3 separate regions of the Homo sapiens genome follow, and all the other regions are linked to region 3. The links are contacts of gene promoters, found by promoter capture Hi-C in blood cells and fetal thymus (Javierre and others, 2016). All regions are on one chromosome and are shown on one strand. Each heading gives the region's core, a stretch centred on a gene start or on the middle of the fragment in contact. The rest is flanking DNA. Distances are from core to core; before and after follow the strand shown.

Region 1 (3,369 bases), core at 1-2,500, 190 kb after region 3:
AGGGGGAAGAAAGGTTTTACTGAAATGTAAAGATCCAGGATAATTTGCATAATTGCTGCTGCCATGGAGAAGCTGGGCTCTGTGCCAACTGTTCTCTTCTCTACCATAAAAATACCTCTAGCTTAAGCAGCTTTTAAAGTAAACAATCAAGATGAAGGTAAGACTACAGAATCCATCATAGCAAGACTCAGAGATACCTACATACAATCGGGTCTTCTTGCTTGAATAGCATTTGTCAACAAGAACATGGAAGTGAAAACGCAGCAGTCAAATAATGTAGACATGCATTCTGGACCTCTTCATAAATAGGCATAAGGAAAAAAAAAAGCACTCTGAGATGGCACGCAGCCCATAGGGCACAAGTAAGATGACAGAATGTGCCTATCTTCTCCTATTAACAAGTCCCAAATTCTCTGGTAAGAGCTGAGGAGCCTAGACTGGGCGTGGTGTCTCACACCTGTAATCCCAGAATTTTGGGAGGCCTAGGCGTGCAGATCACTTGAGGCCAGGAGTTTGATACCAAACTGGTCAACATGGCGAAACCCTGTCTCTACTAAAAATACAAAATTAGCCGAACATGGTGGCACATGCCTGTAATCTCAGCTACTCAGGAGACTGAGGCATGAGAATCGCTTGAACCTGGGAGGCAGAGGTTGCAATGAGCTGATATTGCACCACTGCACTCCAGCCTGGGCGACAGAATGAGACTCTGTCTCTAAATAAAAAGAAACTATATTTAAAAAAAAAGAGCTAAGGAGCCTAAACACAAAGAATTGGTTTAAAAAATAAAAACAAAACAAAAGGCAATTGGAAAAACACAATACCCCATAGTATTAATAATAAAATTGTTTGACTTGGGTTCATATGGTACCACCTATTTGGGGTAAGTCATTAAGATGTGTTAAACTCTTTCAAAAGGTGTTTGACATCTAAAAATGTTTTGTCTTTCTTCCTTATTTTTAAAATCAGAAATGGGGTCTTGTTACGTTGCCAAGGATGGATTTAAACTCCTGGCCTCAAGCAATCCTCCTGCCTCAAGTCTTCTGAGTAACTGGGATTACAAGCCTAAGCCACCATGCCCAACTTCAAAATGTTTTCTTAAACTAAGATTACTTTCAGATGTTCCTAATTATTTATTACATATTGTCTCACTCTATCACCTAGGCTGGAGTGCAGTAGCACAATCTCAGCTCACTGCAATCTCCACCTCCCGGTTTCAAGTGATTATCGTACTCCATCCCTCCAAGTAGCTGGGACTACAGGTGGGTGTCACCATTCCTGGCTAATTTTTATATTTTTAGTAGAGACCAGGTTTTGCCATGTTGACTAGGCTGGTCTTGAACTCCTGACCGCGGGTGATCTGCCCACCTTGGCATCCGCAATTTCTTAAAAATAGCAATCTACAGATTGTTTTATTCATTCATTTTTTTGAGACAGAGTCTCGCTCTGTCACCAGGCTGAAGCGCAGTGGCGCAATCTCGGCTCACTGCAACCTCCACCTCCCGGGTTCAAGCGATTCTCCTGCCTCAGCCTCCCAAGTAGCTGAGACTACAGGCACACGCCACCATGCCCAGCTAACTTTTGTATTTTTAGTAGAAACGGGGTTTCACCATGTTGGCCAGGATGGTCTCGATCTATTGACCTCATGATCCGCCTGCCTCAACCTCCCAAAATGCTGGGATTACAGGCATGAGCCACTGCACTCGGCCTAGAGATTGTTTTAAATAGGCATGAAAGTTTTACTATATATTTTTAGCAAATGAGAGAAGAGGAAATATTTGAGTAATACAGTTATGACAGTTTTCTTTTCTTTTCTTTTCTTTTTTTTTTTTTTTTTGAGACAGAGTCTCACACTGTCATCCGGGTTGGAGTGCAATGGCGCGATCTTGGCTCACTGCAACCTCCGCCTCCCGGGTTCAAGCAACTCTTCTGCCTCAGCCTCCCGAGTAGCTGAGATTATAGGCACGCACCACCACACCCAGCTAATTTTTTGTATTTTTAGTAGAAATGGGGTTTCACCATGTTGGCCAGGATAGTCTCGATCTCTTGATCTTGTGATTCGCCCGCCTTGGCCTCCCAAAGTGCTGGGATTACAGGCATGAGCCACCGCGCCCGGCAGATAGTGTATTCAAAAGCAAAATCTTAGGAATAAGGAAATAAATACTCACATTCTCAAGCTATATTTTAAGCACTGAATTTTTGGTAATGATGATGGTATTTGTTTTATGCTTACAGATCTTTTCTTCAGTCTTACTGAACTGTTTTTAAAGCATTTTCTGTGTTGCTCATAAAAAGCACAAACTTAAAAGATCACCCTGACACTGAAGGAGCCAAAGAAATAGAGAAATCAATTAATAATTATTATACAATGTGCTATATGTTAAAAACAGAAATATATGCAATGGAAACACAGAGGATAGAGTAACCTCCTAGAAAGGTTCAGGGAACGTTTCACAGAATTGGGGGATGTCTAAGCTGAGTCTTTCCATTCCCTCATCCTCCTTCCTTTCTCCTTGCACAGTGAAACTTTTTTATCCTTTTTGCTTTTTATTTAGAAATTTAGTGATTAAATTTGCTTTTCTAATTTTTCTCATTTATCTTAGGTAATTTTAGTTATCGAGGTTGAGACAAATAGAATTTTTAAGAGTTACCAAGTATGCTTAGGAGAATTTCCATATTTCATAATTCCTAACCTTCATAATTGCCCTAACCGTTATAATCAACAAACAGCTTAGAAAGAAAGGTTACCAAGCTCCCCTGCCTTGGCTTATAATTTTCAGCATCTGCTTTTGATCTCCTCAGCAATCTTTTGGAGCCCCCAGCCCGTAAAATCAAAGACTAGGCAAGGAACTACACAATAATCACACTCAGTAATTTTGCTAAGAAATGAAAAAGTGAGGCTGAGAAGCAGGTGCCATTTTGTTTCACTGTTTTTACTGTGAGAGTTACTATCAAATCCTACAGAAAGATGTTAGGATCATTTTTGTGCCTTCATATATATCCTCAGATGTTAGTAATTCAATGTAGCTTCACTCAATACAGCTAAAATATTCTAGTGTATCTACCATCTGTGCATTTTTGTCAAAATGCCTTTGTGTACCTCCTAAACTCTGACTTCCTAATATAGTAGAACTTTTTATTGCAAGCTTGTATACTTTGATATGTTTTCCAAAAATAAAAGTAAAATATACATAGTAAATTAGGACTTGGCTGTTAAAAAATAAACACTAGTTCAGTACCTGTTTTGTTTCAAAAGTGAGTTCTGGTTACAATTTCACCTTAATAACATTTCTGACATCTTTGTTGACATTATCTTCTTTTAATAATCAGTATTCTCTCAATTTAGGTCATTGATTTTAGAGAAACTAA
Region 2 (3,381 bases), core at 449-2,948, 230 kb after region 3:
TCTGTCCTTCAAAAAGGCAGTACTAAGAAAATGAACACAAGACACAAACTACTACAGGTTACTGTGATAGTACACATTCCTGCCACCTCTCTGGAAGCCACTCCTGAGTCTTATCTGCTGATCTGATTTGGCCTACCAGACTTCCAGATGTTGGAATTCCTTAGGTTCAGTCAGTCTTTTCTTTCTCTAAAATATTTTGGCATTTTTTAAATTTTTTAATTTTTATTTATTTTTTATTTTTATTTTTGGAGATGGAGTCTCACTCTGTCACCCAGGCTGGAGTGCTGTGGCACCATCTTGGCTCACTGCAACCTCTGCATCCTGGGTTCAAGTGAGTCTCCTGTCTCAGCCTCCAAAGTGGCTGGGACTACAGGTGCGCATCACCAGGCCAGGCTAATTTTTGTATCTTTAGTACTTATATTTTGCATTTTGGAGATGGGGTTTCACCATTTTGGCCAGGTTGGTCTTGAACGTCTGACCTCAAGTGATCTGTCCACCTCAGCCTCCCAAAGTGCTGGGATTACAGGCATGAGCTATGGCACCTGGCGTTTTTTTGTTTGTTTGTTTGTTTGTTTGTTTTTGAGATGGAGTCTCACTCTGTCACCCAGGCTGGAATGCAATGGCGCAATCTCGGCTCACTGCAACCTCTGCCTTCTGGGTTCAAGCGAGTCTCCTGCCTCAGCCTCCCGAGTAGCCGGGACTACAGGAACGCACCACCACATCCGGCTAATTTTTTATATTTTCAGTAGAGACAAGGTTTCACTATATTGAACTCCTGACCTCGTGATCTGCCCGCCTCGGCCTTCCAAAGTGCTGGGATTACAGGTGTGAACCACTGTACCCAGCCTTTTTTTTTTTTTTTTTTTTTTAATAAAGACGGCTCTATCATCTGGCCTGGGGTACAGTGGCATAATAATAGCTTACTGCAGCCTCCAACTCCTGTGCTCAAGGGATCCTCCCACCTCAGCTTCCCAAGTAATAGGGACCATAGGCATGTGCCACTGCACCTGGCTCCTACTCTAGATTCTTTCCCTGTGTAATTTATTATACTACTTAAGACTTTTAAGCTCCAGACAGTATATCTGAAACCTGGTTCAATATCTTTACAAAGTTTAATCCTCCTCCAATCTTTCCCATTTCAGTACCACCAATTGCTCAAGTCAGAGCTACTACTAGTCAAACTACTACAGGTTACTATGATAGTACACATTCCTGCCACCTCTCTGGAAGCCACTCCTGAGTCTTATCTGCAGATCTGATTTGGCCTACCAGACTCCCAGATGTTGGAATTCTTTAGGTTCAGTCAGTCTTTTGCTTCTCTAAAATCTTTTGGTATCTTTTTAATTTTTTAATTTTTATTTTTTATTTTTTGAGATGGAGTCTCACTCTGTCACCCAGGCTGGAGTGCAGTGGCACTCATCCTGACTATTCTCACTCCCTTATTGTCAACCTTCAACCTAACACCAAAACTTCTGAATGTCACATAAATAATCTGTGATTACATAGAGTTCCTCTCCAATTCTCCCACTGACTTGTCCAAAAAAACCAACAATTCTCACCCAGAATATAGCAACAGCCCTCTAACTTCTTTGTACATCTACCTTGCTCTCCTCCAGCCCAAGCTACATCCAGAAAGGTGTTTTATTTTATATATATATATATATTTTGTTCTTGTTCTTTGAGAAAAAATCTTGCTCTGTCACCCAGGCTGGAGAGCAGTGGCACGATCATAGTTCACTGCAGTCCCAACCTCCTGGGCCCAAGCAGCCTTAGCCTCCTGAGTAGCTGGGACTACAGGCACACACCAACCATGCCCAGCCAATTTTTTATTTTTGTAGAGACAGCATCTTGCTATGTTGCCCAGGCTGGTCTCGAACTCCTGGGCTCAAACGATCTTCCAGCCTCGGCCTCCCAAAGTGCTGGGAATGCAGGCGTGAGCCACTAGAGATTGTTTTTCTCAAAGGCCCAGTGGCTCATGCCTGTAATCCCAGCACATTGAGGCCAAGGCAGGAAGATCGCTTGAGGCCAAGGCAGGACGATCGCTTGAGCCCAGGATTTTGAGACCAGCCTGGGCAACACAGCAAGACCTCATCTCCACTAAAAATAAAAAATAAAATAAAAAATCAGCTAGGTGTTGTGGCACACCCACCTGTAGTACCAGCTACTCAGGAAGCTGAGGTGGGAGGATTCCTTGAGCCCAGGAGGTCAAGGCTACAGTGAGCTATGATTGCACCACTGACTCCAGCCTGGGTGACAGAGCAAGACCTTGTCTCAAAAAAAAAAAAAATTCTGATAATGTAATTTCCCTGCTTAAAATCTTTGAATGTTTTCTCACTGCCCTTCATATATAAAAGTCCCTAATCACACTCATAACTTGCAACTTACAATCTGCAGCATGGTTTGGTGGTTAAGAATATAGTCTCTGAAGCCAAAACACAGTCTCAGAAGCTAGTCCTGCTATATTAATTTTGTGCAAAGTACTCACGGCCTCAGTTCTCTCAAATGTGAATAGAAATTGTTGTAAGGGTTCAATAAACTAATATATGAAAAGTACTTAGAACAGCACTTCACAGTATCACTGTTTACTTTTTGTTGTTGTTAACTGCCCCTACATATCTCTGGCCTCACCATTCCCCACACTGTTGTGAGCAGAGCAAGAGCAAATAACCACCACCAAAAAAAAGCAAGCACTCAGCTGGGTGCAGTTACTCAAACCTGTAATCCCAGCACTTTGGGAGGCCAAGGCAGGCAGACTGCTTGAGTCTAAGAGTTTGAGATCAGCCTGGCAACACAGCAAAACCCCATCTCTACAAAAAATGCAAAAATTAGCTGGATATGGTGGCTCATGCCCATAGTCCCAGCTACTTGGGAGGCTGAGGTGGGAGGATCGCTTGAGCCTGGGAAGTCAAGGCTGCAGCGAGCTAAGATCACACCACTGCACTCCAGCCTGAGTGACAACACGAGACCCTGTCTTAACAACAACAACAACAGGAAACAACAAAAAAGCAAACACTCATACATCTGTGATACATGTGTTTGAAGCACTTTTCAGTTCCCAAATAACTGTTTTCCCTCCTTTAGAACATACAGTTAGTTCTCTCTGCCTGGAACTCTCTTCCAGCATCTTTCCATATGACTACTTCTCTTCCTTTCCATCTTAGTTTAAAAGTCATTCCCTCGGGGAGACATTTCCTATTCCCCTAGACTTGGGAGGCTGAGGCGGGAGGATGGCTTGAGTCTGGCAGATCACCCTGCTAAGTGCATATCCATACTATAAGTCTCTTAATATGCATTATACCAATTAAGTTATTTAATATCCATATCTTCCACTAGACCATGCATTACATGAGAATAAAAATCCTGTTTGCTGTATTCACTGCT
Region 3 (3,564 bases), core at 888-3,387:
GGTTCTTGGTCTCACTGACTTCAAGAATGAAGCCGCGGACCCTCGCAGTGAGTGTTACAGTTCTTAAAGGTGGTGTGTCCGGAGTTTGTTCCTTCTGATGTTCAGATGTGTTCGGAGTTTTTTCCTTCTGGTGGGTTCGTGGTCTTGCTGGCTCATGAGTGAAGCTGCAGACCTTCGCGGTGAGTGTTACAGCTGTTAAGGCCGCGCATCTGGAGTTGTTCATTCCTCCTGTTTCATTCCTCCCGGAGCGATCTCGGTTCACCACAACCTCTGCCTCCCGGGTTCAAGCGATTCTCCTGCCTCAGCTTCTCGAGTAGCTGGCACTACAGGTGTGCGCCACCATGCTGGGCTAATTTTGGATTTTTTAGTAGAGATGGGGTTTCACTATGTTGGCCAGGCTGGTCTTGAACTCCTGACCTCGTGATCCGCCCACCTTGGCCTCCCAAAGCTCTGGGATTACAGGCGTGAGCCACTGCACCCAGCCGTGTTTTGTCCAATTCTTTGTTCAAGATGCCAAGAACCTGGACACCCTCCACCGGTGACAGTACCTTATATACACGGAATCATACAGTATCTGTCCTTTTGAGTCTGGCTTATTTCACTTAGCATAATTGTCAGAGGTGCGTGAACCAGAGCAACTCCATCTTGAATAGGGACTGGGTAGAATAAGGCTGAGACCTACTGGACTGCATTTCCAGTTGGTTTAGGCATTCTAAGTCACAGGATGAGATAGGAGATTGGCTCAAGATACAGGTCATAAAGACCTTGCTGATAAAACAGATTGCAGTAAAGAAACTGGCCAAAACCTACCAAAACCAAGATGGCAACAAGAGTGACCTCTGGTGGTCTTCAACGCTATACTCCTACCACATGCTGTGTCGACATCAGGGAGTTAACTGTATATGGTCTACAAAGCAGAGGCATGAATAATCCAACCCTTGTTTAGCTTATAATCAATAAATAACTGCCTGGGCCAAGTGGCTCGTACTTGTAATCCCAGCACTTTCAGAGGTCGAGGTGGCTGGATCACTTGAGGTCAGGAGTTCGAGACCAGGCTGGCCAATCTGGAGAAACCCCCTCTCTACTAAAAACACAAAAATTAGCTGGGCATGCTGGCAGGCACCTGTAATCCAGGAGAATCACTTGAACCCGGGAAGCGAGGTTGCAGCCTCCCACGTAGCTGGAATTAAGGCGCGGACCAGCACACCTGGGTAATTTTTGTATTTTTAGTAGAGAAGGGGTTTTGCCATGTTGACCAGGCTGGTCTCAGATTCCTGACCGCAGGTGATCCGCCCAAAGTGCTGGAATTACAAGTGTGAGACTCATCTTTTTTTTTTTTTTTTTTTGAGACGGAGTCTTGCTCTGTCTCCCCAGCTAGAGTGCAGTGGTTCGCTGGATCTCAGCTCACTGCAACCTCTGCCTTACGAGTTCAAGCGATTCTCCCGCCTCAGCCCTCCTGAGTGGCTGGGATTACAGGCGCGCGCCACCACGCCCGACTAATTTTTTTTTTTTGTATTTTTAGTAGAGACGGGGTTTCACCACATTGGTCAGGCTGGTCTCGAACTCCTGACCTCATGATCCACCCGCCTCGGCCTCCCAAAGTGCTGGGATTACAGGCGTGAGCCACCGTGCCCGGCCCAAGACTCATCTTTCTTAAGCCCTTAAAGCACTTTGCACACATTACCTCATGGTATTACCACCCTCATTCAACAGATGAGGAAAGCTAGTTTCAAGCAAGTTCACTGAGGATCAGAGACGTTAAATGATTTGCCTAAAGTTAGAGAACTAATAAGTGAGAAAGCTAGTCCTGCTGCGTTTTACTAACGTGCCAATCAGCTGCCCAGGAAGATAATGAAAACTTGAGTAAGACAGGCAGCCAAAGCCACAGCGGGGACGTTCCCAGCCTGGCTCGCTTCCGGCACTGACGCCTCCAGCCGCGACCTCTAGACTTCAGCCCTTCCATTGGTCGTCCGTCACAGTGCCACAGTGCGCCATGCTCACACGACGGCCAGCAGCCAATCAGCGCGGCTCATCTTCGCCCAGCCAGGACACGCAGGATCGCGTTATCTGTCCCTCCCGCGGGCACATTGGGAGTTGTAGTCTAATTATATATTTCCGCCCTTAGTGTGGGGAGAGCGGGAACTACTCGACCCACAGAGCCGATCGCGGAGCGGATTCTGCTTTTAGGAGTACCCGCCAACAAGCGGGACCGAGCAGGAATCCGTATCTGGGAACAGGTGAGAGAGGATGTGTGCTGGGCCTTGGAGGAAGGGGGCCGAGACCGGGCCTTACTTCTGTAACGATACTGTGAGGCATCGGAAGGCCAGCCTGTTGTGTCCGTTTTGAAGGTCGGTGGGCTAGACTGGCTGGCCTTCTAGGGGTGTGGAGACTTCCCAACTCTGCCCTTGTGCTTTCCTGGAATCCCCAATATGCCCGGACCCCGGTTTACTCCTTTGCTGCGAGCCCTTCTCTCCCGTCCAGAGTTGCTCCGAGCCTATCTGCTCAGTCCTAGCGATTCCTGTGGGGCTTGGGACGCGCGGTTCAAGCACCCCGGACCATATGGATGCAGCACCCATGGGTTCTCGCTCCAATGCTTCTTTCCTCCTTGGGGCGTAACTCAGACCCTGGGCACCCCTCTCCACTGCCCAGGGGAGACCTGGGTTCTAGATTTGGCTCTGCCTCTACTATCTTCCTACCTCCTAGAGCCTCAGTTTGGCTTGTGTAAAATAGGATGACTTAAGGGTCCTTTCAGCCCCTAATCCTGGGGTACTTTACTCTGTACCGCCTCCTTACCCAGCCTTGTGCACGCCATCTTGAAGGCACTGAGTTCTAGCCTGTTTATTGTAAGTGGTGATTAGTTGGGTCTCAGTCACCCAGCCATACTTTTTTGTTCCCTGCGTATCCTTCCTGTAATTGTCCCCAAGCACATTCCACAAGAGGGAGGGGCACTCTGGGCTAAGGCTGGGGTGGGAGTTATCTGGGGAGCTGCCACCATGCCTCTGCCTTTGGTGCTTGCCCCTGCAGGGAGTGCTTAGTGCCCCCTCCCTATGCCACTCCCAGGATGCCCCTGTCCCGCTGGTTGAGATCTGTGGGGGTCTTCCTGCTGCCAGCCCCCTACTGGGCACCCCGGGAGAGGTGGCTGGGTTCCCTACGGCGGCCCTCCCTGGTGCACGGGTACCCAGTCCTGGCCTGGCACAGTGCCCGCTGCTGGTGCCAAGCGTGGACAGAGGAACCTCGGTGAGTGTGGTTGGGGTGAGGGGCCTTGGGGAGGGGAGCAGCTGATCAGGTTTCTGACTTGTTTTTCTTCTACTTAGAGCCCTTTGCTCCTCCCTCAGAATGAACGGAGACCAGAATTCAGATGTTTATGCCCAAGAAAAGCAGGATTTCGTTCAGCACTTCTCCCAGATCGTTAGGGTGCTGACTGAGGATGAGATGGGGCACCCAGAGATAGGAGATGCTATTGCCCGGCTCAAGGAGGTGAGGGATTCATGACTTGGGGGAGTAAGGCTTTGGTTCAGTTGCTCTGTACCTGTGTGGCATTCACCTGTGGCTTATGGGGGACTT

The links. The method cuts DNA at HindIII sites, captures the fragments that hold promoters and counts their contacts. A CHiCAGO score of 5 or more calls a contact.
Region 1: a fragment that was not itself captured here is called in contact with the fragment with the promoter of FDPS in region 3 in 1 of 17 cell types (endothelial precursors); the score reaches 5.2 in endothelial precursors.
Region 2: a fragment that was not itself captured here is called in contact with the fragment with the promoter of FDPS in region 3 in 1 of 17 cell types (endothelial precursors); the score reaches 6.5 in endothelial precursors.

What each region holds. Positions count from the first base shown.
Region 1 is chr1:155,500,252-155,503,620 of GRCh38, forward strand. The region is part of intron 2 of ASH1L (ASH1 like histone lysine methyltransferase); the gene reads right to left. Among named protein-coding and RNA genes, the nearest start is that of ASH1L-AS1, 60 kb to the right of the region's middle. RefSeq lists enhancers at 1-264, 1-114. The HindIII fragment of the contact is 3,787 bases long and covers 1-3,144 here.
Region 2 is chr1:155,537,795-155,541,175 of GRCh38, forward strand. The region is part of intron 1 of ASH1L (ASH1 like histone lysine methyltransferase); the gene reads right to left. Among named protein-coding and RNA genes, the nearest start is that of ASH1L-AS1, 23 kb to the right of the region's middle. RefSeq lists a silencer at 3,027-3,076. The HindIII fragment of the contact is 4,484 bases long and covers 1-3,381 here.
Region 3 is chr1:155,306,729-155,310,292 of GRCh38, forward strand. It overlaps FDPS (farnesyl diphosphate synthase), which reads left to right and starts at 2,138. Exons shown (of 11, transcript NM_002004.4): 1 at 2,138-2,237; 2 at 3,061-3,237; 3 at 3,315-3,477. The coding sequence starts at 3,062. It also overlaps a transcript of PKLR not described here. RefSeq lists enhancers at 896-965, 1,868-1,997, 2,328-2,497. The HindIII fragment of the contact is 5,584 bases long and covers 1-3,564 here.